Regions from separate parts of the Homo sapiens genome. Here region 1 is linked to region 2. The links are contacts of gene promoters, found by promoter capture Hi-C in blood cells and fetal thymus (Javierre and others, 2016). All regions are on one chromosome and are shown on one strand. Each heading gives the region's core, a stretch centred on a gene start or on the middle of the fragment in contact. The rest is flanking DNA. Distances are from core to core; before and after follow the strand shown. Region 1 overlaps EIF2S1 (eukaryotic translation initiation factor 2 subunit alpha). Region 2 holds the start of RBM25 (RNA binding motif protein 25).

The links. The method cuts DNA at HindIII sites, captures the fragments that hold promoters and counts their contacts. A CHiCAGO score of 5 or more calls a contact.
Region 1: a contact is called between a fragment that was not itself captured here and the fragment with the promoter of RBM25 in region 2, in 1 of 17 cell types (total CD8 T cells). The highest score is 5.6, in total CD8 T cells.

The regions. Positions count from the first base shown.
Region 1 is chr14:67,363,629-67,366,437 of GRCh38, forward strand. EIF2S1 (eukaryotic translation initiation factor 2 subunit alpha) reads left to right here. Exons shown (of 8, transcript NM_004094.5): 2 at 1,139-1,380. The coding sequence starts at 1,140. It also overlaps a transcript of GPHN not described here. Among named protein-coding and RNA genes, the nearest start is that of EIF2S1, 4.7 kb to the left of the region's middle. The HindIII fragment of the contact is 859 bases long and covers 955-1,813 here.
Region 2 is chr14:73,057,086-73,059,882 of GRCh38, forward strand. It overlaps RBM25 (RNA binding motif protein 25), which reads left to right and starts at 1,449. Exons shown (of 19, transcript NM_021239.3): 1 at 1,449-1,620. It overlaps RBM25-AS1 (RBM25 antisense RNA 1), which reads right to left and starts at 2,368. Exons shown (of 2, transcript NR_184256.1): 1 at 2,191-2,368; 2 at 1-1,672. RefSeq lists enhancers at 726-1,690, 762-1,961, 1,014-1,553. The HindIII fragment of the contact is 1,744 bases long and covers 998-2,741 here.

The DNA.
Region 1 (2,809 bases), core at 134-2,633, 5.7 Mb before region 2:
TTTTAATCTATAAAATGGGGAGAACTAGGGAGAAAGTTGTACCACAAGGAGATAGGCAATGGCCAGATCATATAGGATTCTGTAGGTAGTGGAAAGATACATAAGTCAGTGGGAAGCCACTGAGAAGATATAGGCAGGTGCCAATTAATAAGTTATTATATGAATTTTCACAAGGTTTTCTTAGGCCTTTAAGTTCTGTTACTACCTACGTTTTGAGCAGTGACAACAGTGAAGGTTAACAGAAAAACATGAAAATCATCAGCCATGATTAGTTTGAGAGCTTCCTTTTTTAAATATGCTTCTACCCAGGCTATGATTTCAGGCTTGTGGATCATAAAAGGAGTAGTGCTGAAAGTAGGTTGGGTGGATCAAAGGGAATAATTGTAAATATCTTTAATGCTTGGAGGTTAAGAGAAACTTGAACTTTGTAGTAATGGAGATTAAAGCTATTCTCAAGATTAGGTATACCTATTCAATAAAAGAAAGGAATATTTGGGAGTATTGGGGATAAGAGAAGCTAGACATTGTGAATTCAAGGAAAAAGAATTATGAGAGGAGGATGCATTTTAGTTTATTTTGTGATTAAAATTTTTTTAGTTTTTGTTGTTTTGACATGTGACACTGTAATTTTGGCTATAATAAATGACAGAATGTATCATTTGGTATATTGGTTAGGGTTTAGGTAGAAAATTTTTTCCTTTATATAGTGAGTGGTAGCGTATACAATGTTTGCTCACTTCGGCAAAGAGTAGCTTTAGTTTTCTGATTAGTTATAATAGTGATGCTTCCCATCATTTGATATGCCTTAAAGTAGTATTTTACTCTTGAGGTATTCCTTTAATCCTTAGGTCTTGGAGTACTTTATAGATGGTCATTATTTTTTATGATTCCTCTGAAACTAAAGGCAGAGAATCACCCAAGCATTACAAAAATGTTGAGCAAAATAAAAATTAAAGCTTGGTTCCTGAACATTATCTGTTTTCTGGTACCACTTAAGAAGTTTCAAAGGATGAGAAGACTAAGACTAATAACTATTTTTTTCTTCATCTTTTCTTTCAGTGGCAGGATGTGGAAATTGATTTTTTTTTTATTTTCACCTTAACTGAATACTTACTTAATTCTTTTGTTTAAATTGCAGAATGCCGGGTCTAAGTTGTAGATTTTATCAACACAAATTTCCTGAGGTGGAAGATGTAGTGATGGTGAATGTCAGATCCATTGCTGAAATGGGGGCTTATGTCAGCTTGCTGGAATACAACAACATTGAAGGCATGATTCTTCTTAGTGAATTATCCAGAAGGCGTATCCGTTCTATCAACAAACTCATCCGAATTGGCAGGAATGAGTGTGTGGTTGTCATTAGGGTGGACAAAGAAAAAGGTAAGTGAGAAAAATATCTGTAATATAAATTTCAGATTTAAAATGGTTTATTTAAAAATACATTTTTTGTAAATTGCAAGCTGCAGCTTAAAAAAAAAAGCTCCTTTTATACTTAAACCTTTTACATACAAAGTTGTTAGAAAAGGATGCCAATTAGCTATCTAAGCAAGATCTCTTAATAGTAGTTTAATTAGTACATCCTAGGATTTTATGGATCAGATAACTTGAATTTTATTTCTAGTGTTTATCAGGATCTTGATAATTGACTCATGGTAACCAAACTTAGAGACAGGTAAGTCAGAGTACTAGTTCATTTACATTGGTAGGCCTGAATATGTTGGATGCCTTTTTCTTGATTTAAAGCTAAAATAGTAATGAGATCACTGGGTAAGCATGAAAATGGGGCAAATGGATTTTAGGGATCTTTTATATAAGCTTTGAAAAAGCAATATACTATGCGTGTATATACACACCTGAAATCCAACATTGTATATCTTGCTGGTAATTAGAATGTTTGCATCTACCAGATCTCGTGGTATCTTTCAGACAGTTTTGGATGAGCATTCATTTTTTACTTATTGGATGCCTTTTCTGGGCCCCATGTAAATCATCACCTTTGTGAATACTCTTTTTTTAAACATGGTGTACAATACCATTACGTAGGTTTTAGTTTCAGCCATCTTACTATAATTTGTTAGGTGTTAGTTTTAGGTCATTAGTTACCATCATGTCCGAAAGGCTTCATATCAGTCACCTTGATTCAACTTACCCTTCTGAATCTCCTCAGCCGTCTGGTTTACTGATACTTTCTCACTTCTGCAAGTGATTAATTTTATACATACTGACATTTTAATTTTTTTTATTATAGCCTTAGATGATACATAGATTTTGAGGATGTCTTATGCCTTAGGTAGTGACTGCTACTTAGCACATGGATTGTTTTAAATGTTTTGCTATGACTTAGCTATAGCCCCGCCCAAAATTATTAAACTACTTTGAGACTATTTGTTAAACTTAGGTAAGTCTTCACATCACTGTCCTAGTAGTACCTAAAGTAGTGTCTAATCTTGTACTTTTTTTTTTTTTTTTTAAGAATTGGGGTCTTGCTCTGTCACCCAGGCTGCAGTGTAGTGGTATGATCATAGGTCGCTGCAGCCTTGAACTCCTGTGTTCAAGTGTTCCTCAAGCAGTCCTCCCAAGTAGCTGGAACTACAGGCATGTGCCACCCTGCCCAGCTAACTTTCTTTGTAGAGATGGGGTCTTGCTGTGTTGCCCAGGCTAGTCTTGAACTGGGCTCAAGCGATTCTCCTGCCTTGGCCTCACAAAGTACTGGGATTACAGGTGTGAGCCACTGTGCTCAGCCTTCTTTTTCTATTGTATAAAATATACACAAAAGGAGGAATCAAATATGTTTTTAGTTGCAATCAGA
Region 2 (2,797 bases), core at 199-2,698:
TACTTTCTCATTTGTGCTCCCACTAAATTTTGTGTTCTATTGGTACTCATCATATGTTAATCATTTCTTTTCTTTTCTTTTCTTTTTTTTTGAGACAATGTCTCACTTTGTTGCCCAGGCTGGAGTGCAGTGGTGCCATCTCGGCTCACTGCAACCTCCGCCTCCAGGGTTCAAGCGATTCTCCTGCCTCAGCCTCCCGAGTAGCTGGGATTACAGGCGCCTGCCACCACGCCTAGTTTATTTTTGTATTTTCAGTAGAGACGGGGTTTTGCCATGTTGGCCAGGGTGGCCTCGAACTCCTAACCTCAGGTGATCCACCCGCCTCGGCCTCCCAAAGTGCTGGGGTTACAGGCGTGAGCCACCGCGCCCGGCCGGTAATCATTTCTGTCACTCAACAAATATTTATTGAGCGCTTGCTATGTACCAGGACCTGTTCTTGCACAAAACAGGCAATCCATGCATTGCTTACATTCACATTCTAGTGGGGGTAGTGACGGACCATAAAATCAGCAAGAAAAATGTATGTTATGATAGATGGTTATGAGTGCTTTAGAGTAAAATTAAGTAGGGGAGGCAGGCAGGAAGTGTGTAGTATGTTTCAATTTTATATTAGGCTGGTCATGGTTTGTCATCTATTTCACCTGGCTCACAGTTCTTGCAGGACAGGAACAAATCTCACTTCCATTTGCCTTCATACTTCCAGCACTTAACACAGCACCAGGAACTCAGGGAGGCAATAACTTTATACTGAATCCGTTTTATGCCTTCCTAGAGGCAAGCAGTTGAGAAAGGCGTGTAACTAGATATTGCCTATAAGGTCCACAATTGGAATAACGTAATCATTTATGATTAATTTTATTCATTTCCATTAACTTAAGCTAAGTTCTTTTAGCACGTTTAGATTACAGAACGAAAGCTGTGTTAACTAGTATTACAGGACTTTTCACGTTTTTCCAAACATCTTCTAGCCACCTCTTTGGCCCTACAACTACGCATAAGCTTTTGCTTTTCAAAAAACCTCCACAGCCTTTGCCAATTATTTGTTGATCTCGAGTAGTTGTTATAACAGCACTTGGGGTTTAACACTAAGGTTGCAGATCGCGCCCAGTTATCAGTTCCTCGAACCTCAAGGAATCACAAAGCAAGGTTCCACCCCCCGAAAAACTACGAAAAGTGAGAAAGCCTCTAACACTCCTCGCGCCGTGCCCAGCCGGAACCTTGACCTCAAGATGGCGTCCCGTAGTCGTAAGATTCAGTCGGCTCCAATCAAACATGGTGGGTCATAATTTACAGTTCGGGCCTTTCTAGTAACCGCTAGACGCTGCTTCTCTATGGTTATTCGTCTCGGCTTGGTGAGTCAGAGCCAACAGCGGAGACGATCTATATACGTTCTTCTCTATGGTTCCGCGCTCCCCGCCCCCGGCCGCAGTGCACGCCGGGCAAGAGGAAGACCTCCATCAGCTCGCCGCGCAGCGCGGCTGTATTTGCGGCCTGTGCGAGTAGGCGCTTGGGCACTCAGTCTCCCTGGCGAGCGACGGGCAGAAATCTCGAACCAGTGGAGCGCACTCGTAACCTGGATCCCAGAAGGTCGCGAAGGCAGTACCGTTTCCTCAGCGGCGGGTGAGTTTGTGTCTCTGAACGCGTGTGGAAACCGGGAGACCGGGTGCCTCAGCTGGTGGAGGAGGAAAAGCCGGGGTGGCTGCGAAAGCGCCAGGGTGGGGTAGAGGTAAGGGGGAGCGCGGAGGCGGGGGTGGGGGAGGGGTCGGCACGAGGCTTGGTTTCTTCTCTTCTCTAAGGCCTGGAAAAGCTGTGGGCCCAGCCGTAGCTGGTGGAGGCCAGACCTACGGCTTGAGCTTTCCGTCTTGCATTGTCGCCCACTTTCCCTTTCCCTTCCACGTTCCGCCGCGGAGTGAATCGTCTCTGCCCCCCCTGGGCTCCACGTTAGATACAAAACGATCGATCTGCCCCAGGGGAGCCCTTCCCTGAGCCCCCTTACTTACCGGAGCCCCACAGTAGGTTTTCGGGCCTGGGACACTCTCGCCCCAGCCGTTGCCTTGAAGTTAGCCTCTACCCACCCTTTTTAGCGAGGTGCTGGCCACCAACGGATATCTTTCCCTTCCTCTTTGGCCATCTAGAGCCCGCCACCAAGTGAACTGGGCCCCACCCCCTTGGAATTGAGCTAATACCTACCTTTTTAGCAGTCTCCTGGCTTGCTTAAGATAGTCATGAATTTTGCCATCCTGCCTCTTTTGCGCATTGGAGGGTGCAGTAAACTGTATATCGCCATTCATTCTAGGCGATTACTAAGCTCCACATTAAAATGTTACTTTCTCATTTTTCTTTGGTCGTCAATCCTGCTTTTAAATACGGTTTTCCGGAATAGACGTAGGACTATGAAGATTTTTCGGAGGTTATGTAATATGGATTTGTATTGCCATGGAAATGCCATTTTGATACTGGGCAGAGTGGAGCCAAGAGAAGGGAAGAGATTGGACCTCTGTTGCACCCTACTGCTGTATTAGTGTGAAGTACTCTGTGTATTAGGCCGTGGGCAGTAATGTATAAATAATTTTTGTATAGTCTTTGGAGCTTTTAATTTTTTTAAAGGCTATTTCCAAAAACATTCAGAGGACTTGAAAGGGATTAAGTTGGTCATAAGTTACTCATGATTCAAGTGAATCTTATAGTATTCTAATTCATTTAACTTAAAGCCTTGGTTTTTCTTTTTCTTTTTTCTTTTAAGCTTTGGTTTTTGTTCCTCTGTAAAATGAATTTATAGTAGTATCTATACGTTATT